2 separate regions of the Homo sapiens genome follow, and region 1 is linked to region 2. Evidence: promoter capture Hi-C in 16 types of primary human blood cells and fetal thymus (Javierre and others, 2016). All regions are on one chromosome and are shown on one strand. Each heading gives the region's core, a stretch centred on a gene start or on the middle of the fragment in contact. The rest is flanking DNA. Distances are from core to core; before and after follow the strand shown. Region 1 has its middle 56 kb from the start of LINC03007. Region 2 holds the start of HOXA13 (homeobox A13).

Region 1 (6,722 bases), core at 1,317-3,816, 1.4 Mb before region 2:
GTTTTCAAACTTTGCTCATGCTTTTTGATTTCAGATATTATATTTATCTGGCACAATGACCTGATGAATTACTCTAATGTGGAAGAAATGCCCTTTGTGACCCACAACGCCCATATTGACTTGCTCTTCTGTCTTGCATTTTTAATTTTTACACTTTTCTTGCTTTAAAGTCACATGCCTTGTACAAAAAAAATCTAGAGCTGGAAGTTGAAGTAAAATCCACTCAGATCATTTTCTGACCCTAATTTCCATAAAAAATACATGTACCTACAGTCATTTTTTTCAAGGAAAATGGAGTAAAAATACCATTCCCACTTGATATCACCTTTTCTGGATTTGCCCATATTATTCACCTAGTTAAATGCCACCTCCTCCAAGAAGCCTCATCTCATGTACAAGGTACATACAATCTCTCTTGACTCTGACCTTCCATAGGAATTTCCTGCACCTCTGCAACACCCGCATTTTCAGACATGCCTTCGTGCCTTGATATGCGCATGCCTCAGCCTCACCACTTCATCCCCACCCCTCGAGAGCAGGATCCAGGTCCCGTTCATCTTCAGTCTCCACAGGGTCCGGGACAGTGCCTCAAATGATGTAAGGGCTCAATAAATGCATCATGAATAAACAAAGTAGCTCCTGCTTCTGTCTCTGAGACTCAGGGGACCACCAAAAGCAAAAATATTTGGCATTATAAGTCATGACATTATTGCATGGGTTTGCCCTGTAATGACAATTAGAAGAATGCAAAAGGCCTTGGCTTCCTTGATAAAAAGAAAAATTCAGACAAAAATTCAATGTCAGACTTTTCTATGGAGTTTATGAACAGGAGTAGATCAAAGAAAGCCTTAATGAGCTGAATTCCGGGGAGAAACTATGTTACTGCAGATAGGAAAACAGAACGCCATTTGCACAATGATCTTGAATTATCATCTTGCTTGTACACAGTAGGTTCCTACATTCAGAGCAGCCATGGATCTAAAGTCAGCTAGAAGATGGCCAAACAATGGTTCCTCTGGTCTCCTCCTCGGCAGCTCCAGCAGAGGGCCCTCTGCACACTGGGTCATTTTTCTCACCCTCTACAGCATCCTCTCAGAGGAGATTTCCCACCAAATTCCATAGGATGGAAAGCCGGCATGCTGCCTTGGGATGAGAACAGATAATGATGGATGAGGCCAGTTTCCAGTGAGACTTTCATTGAGGAAGTTTGCTTCTGAGCACTGACACTTTCTCCCCTAGATCGCTGAGTAGCGCTATTCCATGGGGGCCCCCAAGAGATGGAAAGAACATCCTGTTGGAGGAATGTTTCCCATTTAGAAACTGGCTTTGTGCAGAGGTAATTATGTCCTAAGGTAAATTTTAAATATAAGAAAGGACAGCCATTTCCATACATGAAATTACACCATTTAACTTTATAGCCATCTCTTTCCTCAAGCAGTTAAGTCAATTTTTAGATGAAGGGCTTGACTGTCTATTTTTACTACATGTAATTCGGTGTTCTGTAACTTTCACAGCTATTGCTCTTCATTGCTATGTGAAAAATCATGGCGATTATCAGGCATGTAGTTTCAGTCATTCAGTCATATCTACAGGGTCTGAGGATTTATGACAGGAGGAAGATACTTCCTTCCCAACAGGGTTTGTGGTAAATCGATTCCAGGGGCCACTGGACTGCAGGAAGTCTTTGTGATGTTTTCTGCGGTGCATGGGTTTGGCATAATCTGAATTGAGAGTTATTATTTCTGAATTGGAATGTGTATTAAAAGTTTGCCCTTCTCTGGATCAGCTCACAAATCTGTAAAATGGAAATAGCAATGTTTACTTATGTCACACGAAAAGCTGCAGGTTTCAATTGAAATTTTTATCTTATAATTATAAACTGAGACTGAGTGGTAACAGGGTATTGTTATTATAACAATAACCAAAACACCAAAAGAATGTGAAACGTGGGAATACAGGCTTTGTGTGTGTACAGATGAGATGGCTATACCCCATAGGCTTTATTCAGAGAAAAAAAATGTGAAGAGAGTGAGAAAAGACTTTTTTTCAACTAATAGAAGGTAGAAGAAAAACAGCAGTGACATAAAACTTGGCAGGGTCTTCCAGCTTCCTGGGGACCACAGGAATTTCCCCAGATTGGTCAACCTCACAAATCACATGTCTTCATCTTCCATTTCTGACAAAGTGAGTTTGACTCTGCAAGAGATTTATTCTCCAGTGATTCTAGCTATCAAAGACAGCAGTTCCTAACCTGTTTGGTTCAAAGTTTCCTCTGCAAATCTGGTAAAAATCTGTGGCTCCCAGATCCAATTAAAATTCACAAAGGTATATCTTATTAACACAACAAGTGTAATAATAACATCTAATATTGAGAGAGCACTTTGGGGCCACAGGTTGTGTTAAGTGCTTTAAGTGCATTTTCTTATTTAGTCCTCACCCTAACCCAATGCGGCAGATATTATTTTCTCCATCTTATAGATGACTGAAAAAGCTTGGAGAGGGTAAGTAACTTAGCCTTCCATGCAAAAATTTACTTACAATCATAGAGGTTCTCAGACCTTGTCCAGGCCCATCCATGGGCCATCAAACATGCACCCCAGGTTAGGAACCCTGCCCTCTGCAAGCAGAATAGCTGCACAGAAAAGCTTGTCAAGATGTCCTAAATTCAGAGCTCATCCCCAAACATACAATATGCATATGTATGTATGTATACACATGCATATATGTGTGTATAAGTATGTATGTATGAATTACTATGTCTATGAAGGAACAATTTTTATTTCTGAGGCAGCTCTCTAAAGCTGCTTAAGACTGCTGAACTATTTCATCTCTACTCAGCTCTGCTACCTGATAAGATACTAACATCACATGTTTACAGCACACTCCCACTCATCAAACAGAAACTGACCCTGGGGAGGTGTCATATAAAGCGCTACCAACCAACAGACAGGTTCACAGCTCCTCAGCCGACATTGGTAATGAATAACATATTACCCTGGGCCTTGAAGCCCCTTTCAAATCCATTACTGATGACCCTCCCTGTCACTGGGCTGATCTGGAGCTGGTGTTTAATCATAGTCCTGCAGTGACATCAGAGATCTGGCACTGGACTTTGCAGAAGGGCCTGGGGGAGAGGTAATTAATGTTGAGTGCCACTGAGGAACTCCCAAGAGCAGGCATCATGAGCCTCGTCTGCCTTTGAGCAGCCGGCATCCAGGTGAGGTGGTACAATCCGGCCAGCAGCCTGCACTGGAGAGGTTCTGAGGCTGGCTTTGAGCCATTGGGTCCACATGGGCTTGCTGAAGAGATCATCAGCATTTAATCAATCTTCCAAAGGGAAGTTCAACCTGAAGAAGTCAGCCTTCCCTTCAGGCTTCCAGGGCATCTGCTCAATGGCAAAGCAGCTTTAGAAAGAGGGTGCTGACTCTGAGGATGTGTTCCTCCCTCTTCCTTTCCAACAGTCAACGTTGAAGTCAAGATGGCAAAGCAAGAATCCCCTCTGATTGCAAGAAATTGTCAGAAGAAGCTATCCAGTCCTCTGATTGTGGGAATCTGCACCGAGCTGGCTACAGCTCTACAAAGATGAGATTTCCAGGTAACACAGAGTTGAGTTTTGTGTCATCCACATGGGCTGATTTCCCAATTTGGTGACCTGACACATGGCCAAGAGAATAAAGTGATGGGAAAAAAACTCAACTAGAAAATATCAGAGAGAAGAAACATCATGCAGTTTCTTTAAATTGTAGTGAACAAGAGAGTTAACGAAAATCAGCCATTTCATCCCATATGAAAAATAAAATATCTACAGAAAGCCAAAATACTTTTTCCAAACACCATTCTGGAGTCATTTACCACCAACCAACCTTCCAAACAAATCGGTTGTTGATTTGTTTATTTGTTACACAACCAGACACATATGGCTGATGAAAGTAATCAGATGCTGGTGGGGTGAAGACAGAACTCAAAAATAAATTGAACTGAAGAGCTAAACATACTGCAAAAAAGCTCAGGCCTCAGGCACACCTTCCAAGTTGTGTTATTCTATGCTATTCATACCACTTTCCTTATTGATATAAAACAATTTTTGTTTTCTTTTCCAGAAAGAATGCTGCCAATCGCCAGAGGCAGACATGTTTATCAGGCTGTGTATCTTGAAGTCTGACAGAAAATCTGTGGCCTTTGGTACAGCTGAAAAACACTCTGTCAACACCATGGAGAGTGCAAGCCCGTTGTGCTGGCCTCAACCCAAGGAGTGCAGGGGAATGGACAAAAATTTGACTCAAGGCCAAAAATTACAAGAGGAGGGAAAGTCAGACTTGAGGCAAACAAGCCTTTTCCATCGGGTCTGTTTAATATCTCGTGTAAGCATCCAAACCACAAATCGGTCAGTGCTTAGGTGAAAAGACAAGTTTTTCTCCCTTTTGGAAAGCTATTTTGCTTAAGCTCCTATGAATACATCAATTATATTAGCCCTGAGAGTGTCTGTCAGTGCAATGTTAAAAGGTCCACTATTTTTCAGACTGCCCACATCAGAAACAAAATACCCTTCAAACTCTCTGCCCTGAATTGCTTGGGCCAAAGAGAGCTTGAGAGAAAAAGGCATAAACTCCACAACATTGACAGTGAGAAGAGCCACTGGTTTTAAGTAAATTGTAGTCATATTTATCAGCTTAATAAAATCCCCCCAGCACTCGTGTGCCATCAAATTCTTCAATTTCAAATTCAGGAAAAATGGCTCTTTTGTGACAGAAGGTATAAGGCCAAAGGGCAGGTTGTCAGCGAGACCGCCTCCCCTGCAGGCCAGTTGGGCTTGGAGCTTTGGGAAGGCAAGTTTGCAAGAGCCTAGGCCTGTTGCAGAAATACTCTGTCCTCAGCTTTTCCTTCAGGGCCAGGTCCCTGGATTCTTGGATAAGACATTTACAATATGCGGGCACCACACTGAATCAGGACTGTGTGCAGAGAAGCAAACCAGGCCTTTCCACATAGATAGGAAAAAATAATCATAACAGTTCATGGTTATGCAGCTTCCAGTGGACTCCATTGTTACCTGGTAATCATCAGTCAATTGCCATCACCCTTAACCTTAAAGGTGTCACTTTCGTACTTCAGGTATTCTTTCCAAAGTCCCTCTACCCCTTCTTCTCCCTGTCTTATCTGTCCCTGATCTCTGCCACCCTCAGTTGCTTACATTGGCCAACCAGCCTGAAATGGGAGAGGTTGAATCCTTCATGCTATGTGCATAGCCAACATTCCACAAGATTTATGTCACTAAAGCCTGTGAAAATGACAAATGGTGAGAAAGAGGGCCAAAAAGGGAAGCAAAAATAAATCCAACTACGATTTAACAAAGGGCGGCCCAGTATCTGTACCTAGTGGGTACTGTGATATCTTGAGGGACATGAATTTAACAAGAGAAATAAACTGCTGTATGAGGATCTTTAAAATGCTCTTGTTTTCCATTCAAATTCTCTTTAGTAAAGTTGCTTTTTGCCCTGAAGTCATAATCCAATTGTGTCAACGTGGTAATTAAACATCTGGATTGATTAGGTGGGGAAAGGGAGATTATTTTCTAAGATATTTTTTCTAAAAAATAAGCTTAAGAGTAGAAGGGCTCTGGTTTCCCGGAGCTGTCTAGAGTCATGGAAGGAAGGCCGCCAATATGAGGGATGAGGATGGCCACACAGTAGGGTGACTTTTCAATAAAATAACTTTTTTGTTCTTGTCACATTTAGTGAGCTTACTGCAACTACTACCCTACCAAAGTCACTGACTTCAGTAAACCATGGCTCAGCCATATGATGAATCATCCAGATGATCAAAATTATTCTTATGAAGAGCTTTTAACAACAAATACAGATACTTGTGATATAACACTGTGAACAAAAGCAAGATATACAAGGGCATTTGCAGTATAATGACAACTATGAAACCGATCCACATACGAGAACAGCAATACTCCAAAACTTCAAAAGGTGATTAGCTATAGATGGTGGGATTCTAGATGATTTTTGTTATTTTCTAGACCTTGTATTGAGTATTCTATAGTAAGTATGGATTCATTTTTATAATTAAAAATATATTTTTAAATGGAATAAAATCTATAAAAGGCATCACCTACTTCTTTCAAAGGTCACATATTCCTTAATCATGGCTTGAAGCCTCAGAGCTAAAATGGCAGTGTTCAAAATATACATCTGCTTTAGAACCTATTTTCTTCAATCTTTCCTATGATACTTAAAATTTCATAGACCTTCACAGAAATGTGGGAGGAAATCTGTTAGTGACTTTGTACACGCACCCAGATGATCTGGAACTGGTACTCTCCAGTGAAGCAGCCACTGGTCACTGAGGCTACCAAGCACTCGAAATGTGTCTGGTCCAAGCTGAGATGAGCTCTGAGAATGAAATACACACCAGCTATTGAATATATGGGAAGGGGCAAAAAATGTAAAATATCTCAATACTAACTTTATATTGATTACATGTTGAAGTGATATTTTTGAGATATTGCATTTAATGAAAAATACTATTAAATAATTTCACCTTTTTTTTAATGTGTAATATAATGTAATATGTAAAATGAGCTATGTAGCTCACATTAGCGCTCTTTTGGACTGAAATACTCTAGAAAAAAATTCTGCAGAAGTGTGCTTCGATTATCCATCTATCATCTTTCAGAAACATGCAGGATCTGAATACACACAGATTGCTTGCCCAAGCCA
Region 2 (6,097 bases), core at 333-2,832:
CGATCTGAGCCACCCGCCTTGCAGCGCCCGGCTGCTCTTTGCCACCCGCTGTACAATCCTGTCTTCTGCTAAAGCCTAGAGGGTCAGTGGGGAAGGTAGTTAGTTCTGAACTGAAATGAAATCACCCAGGGCTCCAGTGACTTCCCCAACCCGGCCATCCTGCAGGAGCAGCGCGTAGGCAGCCTCGAGTGATAGCCTGGTCCAACGGCCCACACCTTAGCGCCAGGCTCAAGGTACAACACTTCTGTGCCTGCCTCCTTTCTGGGTGCCCGTCCCAATACTCGAAGCTTCTACACTGAAGCCATTTTTGAGAGAATGAATAGGGAGGGGCAATTTGGGGAGCTGTTTTCTGGTCAATTTCTCATCCTTAAATTGGTGTCAGGGGCTGGGGAGGGCGGGGCGCAGAGGGAGAGGGAAGCTAGCCGAGGTCTCCACAAGCCACCCCTCACCCAGGGAGAGCCAGGGACCAGCTCAACTCGAGGCAGTGCAGGCAGACCCAGCCAGCCATGCTCGGGCTCCCAGGGGTGCAGAGCCGCTAGGGCAGACCAGGAAGAGAACAGAAACGCACCCGGGATCGCCCGGGTGCGAGCGGAGAAGAAGCTGGAGCAGAGCCGGAAGACCAGGGCTGGGAATAGGTCGTCATTTACCGGGCAGAGTGGACTTCCAGAGGTGGGGAGGCTGCGCCTGCTCTTTGGGGCAGTACATTTGGCCGTTCCAGCCGTTGGGCAGCGCCCAGGGCTGGTAGCTTTCCATGGGAAGACCCAAGGGTTCGTGGCGCGACTCGCCGGGGCCCCCGAGGCCCGGCACCACTGGCATATCCAGGTAGCCAGGCATGGGCTGATGGTGGTGGTAAGGCCCGGCTGCGTAGCCCTGGTGGTAGAAGGCGAACTCCTTAGCGCGGGAGCTGAACTCCTCGGCAGCTGGGCCGGCGGTATCCATGTACTTGTCCGCGAAGGCGGCGGCGGCGGCGGCCGAGGCGGGCTGCGCGCACGACTTGATGGCGTTGGGGTGCGGGCCCATGCGGGCGCACGGGTAGTAGCCGCTGCCGAAGTAGCCATAGGGCAGCGCCGCGGGCCCCGACGAGCTCTGCGCCGCTGCCGAGCAGGGGCTGCATTGCTTGGCGGCCTCTGCGCCCGCCGGGCCCGCCGGGCCGGGACCTCCCGAGGACGACGCGGCGGCGGCGGCGGCGGCTGCAGCGGCAGCCGCGGCAGCAGCGGCGGCAGCCGACGGGGGCGCCTCCCCGGGGGCGCTGCTGTAGGCGGACGCGGCTCCTGGCGCCAAGGGCGCCGGGTGCGCCATCAGGTTGCGGCACTGGTTGGCCGCGGCCGCCGCCGCAGCCGCGGCCGCCGCCGCCACCGAGAAGTTGCCCCCTGCCGCCGCAGCCGCCGGGTGGGGGAAGCCCCCGCCCCCGGCCCCGGCAGCCGCCGCCGCTGCAGCCGCTGCTGCAGCCGCCGCCGCCCCTTCCATGTTCTTGTTGAGCTCGTCGGCCACCAGGCCGCCGCCGTTGTCGTAGAGAAACATGACGGTGGGCTCGATCCAGCGGGGGTGGAGGAGCACGGAGGCTGTCATAGCCCGAGCCGCATGGAGAAGACCCCAGTGGCGCTGTTTTAAAAAGCCCCCAAGAAGTGAAGAGCGCGCGGCGCGGGGCCGGGGCCCGAGCGAGGGGGGCGGATCGCGCCCCGCGGGGTCGCGCCAGGCGGCCGCCCATTGGCCCGGCCCCCCCGCTCCGCCCACGGCGTATGCAAAGCGGGCGGCTCCGACTCCAGCTCTGCACGGTGCACCCGTCGTCCCCGCCGCGGCCCGCGCCGTCCCCAGCGCCAGCCGCGCGGCCGCGCACCATTCACCCGGGGGAGAGGCGGAGGAACGTGCGGGTGGGGCAGGGAAGGAAGGCGGCCCCATCTCCGCCCCCCTTCCCTTCCTTTATCCCAGTGGGGCCCAGACCCGCGCAACCAGGCGGGGAGGGGAGGTGGGCGCGCGATTGGGTTGCGATCTGGAGCAGTGGGGACAGGTCAGGTAATTCTGCCGGCGGTCAGGGATGGGAGAGTGGGGAGGACGGGACCAGCCTAGCTCAGAATGGGTGTTTCTTGGAGCCTCTGGGACTGTTTTCTTTCCAGGAACCGGCGCGTATTTCTGCAGTGAGACCACAGGACGGACATCGGCGCCTTCGGCTTCGATGGAGTTGCGATTTTGCTCTTTCCAGGGAAACAGTGGCAGGGTGTTTGCTGCTTATCGGTTCCTGCGGATATGCCTGGGTCCCAGGACATTCCACTGGAGGCTTGGACTGCATTTAGGAGCCCCTATCCCTTCCCTGTCCACACTGTTAGTGAGCAATTTCATATGTTTGCATTTAGACCCATAGACTCAGAACGACTCATCACACACACACACAGTGTACACTGACACACTCACATTCGCACACTTAGGTATACAGCCTGATCCTTGCTCTGACCTGGTAACAACGCTTCCTCCTCCAGAGACTTTGAGATAGAGCGAGCGATCCCTGTGCACCATTCATCCATGCTCCCACCTCGCCAGTATGGCTGGCTTAGTTCTGGAAGGGGCTTAAGAGGAACAAGCCCCAGCTGTGCTTCTGGCTGGGACTTAAACCCCCCTTCTGGGCCCTAAAGCCACGCTTCTTTGTGGACCGGACCTGACTCTCCAGGAATCTGGGAACCCGCTATTTCACTCTATTTTGGGACAAGAAAAAGGGGCTCTTTGGGGCCACTTCCTGCCTTCCCCTCAAGTAGGATCTCCAGCCTGCAGAGGGTGCCTAGTCCTTCTTTGCCCAAGAACCAGTCCAAGAAGCCTTTCCTCTGTGCCTGGGAAATGCAACCTTTTCTTGGGAGCATGGTAGGGTGTTGGTGCTGAAGAACCAAGCAGCGACCCGTCTTGTAGCTGCCATGTTTTGTCGAGGGGTTCTGGGGGTCCTGCTGCTTTAGAGCCACATACTTCCACTTCCTGATTCACTACTGTGAGCTGGTCAGATGCCTAGAAGAGGAACAAGCGTTCAAAGTGAAAGTGGGCACATTACCGGAATAGTGCTGGGGAGAGTGCTGGATTCTTTTCCACCCCAGGCGGACTGGTGAGAAGCCAGGCTTGGACCTGTCCTCTGCTCCTAGCTTGCACACTCAGCCCTAAACTCAGAGCAGCACGCATACCACCCCTCACACACACCCCACCATCTGCTGTCTAAGGCCCCTGGGCTTCCTGCAGGATCCAGACCAATGTGGCTGGGCTTGGGCTTTTATCTGTCCTGATCCTGGATTTGTCCTGACCAATGTAAGTGTCGCCCAATAAAACCTTCTATGACCCCCACACCAGCCACCCCCCCACCAAGTGTGCCCTTTCCTTCTTGACTTTTTAGCAGTTCTGGGTAAATATTGATTTGCCCCCAGTTTACCTTCTCCCTGACTGGCCATTTGCAGACTCAGGAACTAGCCTCTGTAGGGACTTGATTTTTCTGTTACTTTCTGGCCGTTTCACCACCCCCCTTCCTCCCTCCAAGTGGCATTGTAAAACTCACAGTGACAAAGAGACAGAGTAGGGTTCTAGGCCCCTGTTCCTGGGGACTTGAAGGCGGTTTTACATACTGGTCAGACACGGCTGGAGGCCAAGGTCAAGTTGAAAGTTGCAGTCCAGCCAGCATGAGAACTGCCATGCGAGCGTAGAGACACAGGCAGCAGCAAAAGGCCCATTGCCCACATCCCCTCACTCTTAATTTTCTCTCTCTTTTTAAAATTCTCGCCTCTGACTCTGTTCGGCTGCCCAGAATTTTTTGGTGCCTTCGTGGGGTTTTTGGGGCGGTGTTTACCGACTCTTCTCTGCCTCCGCCCTGCTCAGCCAGGGCTTTGAGCCTCTTCGGTTTTCCGGCCAGACCCGGAAAAACGAAAACACAGCTTGGGGAGCCCCCACTAGCCGGCGCCTGTGCCAGCTCACCTCTGGCCATGGCGCAGCTGCCGGTGCACACGGCGGCCAAGGCCAGCTCCACATTCTTCCCTCCCCCTCCCACTTCACCGTAGCCCCGAACCCTGCGCGCAGAGAAAGGGTCTCAGCTCCACAGACGACTGGGTCCCTCCTCACCAAAAATGGTGAGACAAGATTTCATCTGTCGGCCGAGGAGCCACAAGCAGGTTTGTCTGAGAGGGATGGTGCTGGGGGAAGGCTTTGGATTGCATCTCAAATTAAGCTTTGCTCCTTAAATGTGGCGCTCTCGCCAAGAAAAAGCTTGGGGACTGAATTCTTGAGATTTATGGTGCACCTTATTGATCAAATTTATCTGGACTTTTTTTAGTTCCCCGATGTGTCCCTATCATTAAAAAAAAAAAAAAAAAAAAAAAACCCCTCTCAAGACATGCTTATTTAGAGGAAGGCACCCTGCTTGTTCTCTTCTTGTCTTGGATCTCAACATGTATCTTATTTTTCTACCAGACATGTCCATGGCGTCCTGGCATGCCCCACTGTTTTCAAATGTCTGCATGTCCTGTCAGTATTGAGTTGTAGCCACCAATCAGTGGAGGTCGTTTATAGAAGGAGAACGAGCTCTGAATAATTTGGGTCTGAGTTTCAGAATTTCTACTCACTTTTAAGCAAGAATAATCTTCCTTCCCTGTCTTCTGCTAAGGGAGATAAGATATTTATTAATGTTTCCCAATATGATTTCTTTCCCTGCCAGGCAGCCAACAAACTGACTTGCTGTGGCAAAAGAAAGTTTGGAGGACGATTGAGACGGGTGTGCTCTGGGAAGCAAGCACAGACCCTCCTAGCATTTTTCCTCTTTTCCCAACGGCAAGGTCAAGATTTGCTTGCCTGCCAAGGTAGTGGGTCCTGATCTTCTGAGCTGTCTGTCCCTCTGATTTTTTGTTCTCCAGGCTCAGGAATTCCTATAGGATTGCAGAGGCACCTTCAACCTGATAATTTTATATTCTCAGGCTCCTCCTGGGTTAGACTGGGGAAGCCAGGGCACCCACTAGGATCGGCCGGCAGCGGTGGCACCTTAGGCATGACAGCCAAGCAGAGGGCTGCATGAGTAGAGGTGGGAGAGGTGGGAGAGGCTGCAGTCACTTCCCAGGTACTGTCTGGTGCACTGATTTCCCCGGAGGAGCCCTGAGAGGGCAGTGCAGGCAGGACCGGAGGGTAGTTTCTGCAGCACGGCCTTTATTTCAGGAATCACCAGAGCCTTTCTCAGTGTTCCAAAATGCCTTGGCTGACAAGGCTTCTTACTTCCTGGGGTAGGCCAGGGTGCCCTGCAGGGACTGGTTGCCCAAAAACCTCTCACTGAAGAAAAAAACCGCAGCTAGGTTTTTCTGGGTGGGGAACTGGATGCCAGCCTGGTCCACGCGGCTCTGGGCTCCCAGCATTGGAGAAGAAAAGGAAAAAGGGAAACCAGGTTTTAATCGAGCTTGATTTTCATTAGCAAATGAAATTTACCTGCTCTCACTTTAACTCTGAGGAGGCTGTCAGCACTGCTCCCTGGCACTATTTCTTTGCATCCATCCAGCACTAGGATAAACATTCCTTGGTTGATTCTAAAGACACTTTGTATTTCAGGATATTCATGTGCTTTTAATGTATCCAAGCAGCTTTACAAGCCACTTTTGCAGAACATCTTAACCCTCTCTCTCCCACCCTAGGTGGGCTGGGGCACAGAGATAATGGCAAAGGAAGAAAGATCCAGAGGAAAAACTGGTTGAGGGGCTGAGGAGAGAGAAAGAGAAAAGACGAAATCGTCAAACAGTGTAGCACCTCTGAAGCCAAACTTGAGCAGATCATTTGGGAAAGGAGCAAGTGGGGGACTGCTCTGCTTATGGAGGGAATTTTGAGTGTCCCCATCAGGTAGAAGCTGTACCCTCTTTCTTAAGGGGAAAGGGTTGGTAGGTCCTGAGATCTGGGCTGAAGTTGGCCAGCGGACAGGGAAATGGTGCATCGAGTCACTCACTCAACCTTTTGTTCCAGATTTTTGTGCATTTGAAACAATAATAAGGCAGTAAAAGGCTTGAGGCTGTGGGATAGTTTTGGGCTATTGTCACTGTGGTGACCAAATGTTAACATGGTGAAAGTGGAAGTGCAAGGTCCAGGAAGATCTACAGGGACCCCCACT

The links. Contacts are between HindIII fragments. The CHiCAGO score rates a contact against its expected background, and 5 or more counts as called.
Region 1: a fragment that was not itself captured here is called in contact with the fragment with the promoter of HOXA13 in region 2 in 3 of 17 cell types (total B cells, naive B cells and total CD4 T cells); the score reaches 13.0 in total B cells.

What each region holds. Positions count from the first base shown.
Region 1 is chr7:25,842,628-25,849,349 of GRCh38, forward strand. No RefSeq gene overlaps it. Among named protein-coding and RNA genes, the nearest start is that of LINC03007, 56 kb to the left of the region's middle. The HindIII fragment of the contact is 154 bases long and covers 2,490-2,643 here.
Region 2 is chr7:27,198,509-27,204,605 of GRCh38, forward strand. It overlaps HOXA13 (homeobox A13), which reads right to left and starts at 1,583. Exons shown (of 2, transcript NM_000522.5): 1 at 648-1,583. The coding sequence starts at 1,569. HOTTIP (HOXA distal transcript antisense RNA) reads left to right here and starts at 1,913. Exons shown (of 3, transcript NR_037843.3): 1 at 1,913-2,013; 2 at 2,115-4,130. RefSeq lists enhancers at 3,930-4,454, 5,949-6,097. The HindIII fragment of the contact is 3,899 bases long and covers 286-4,184 here.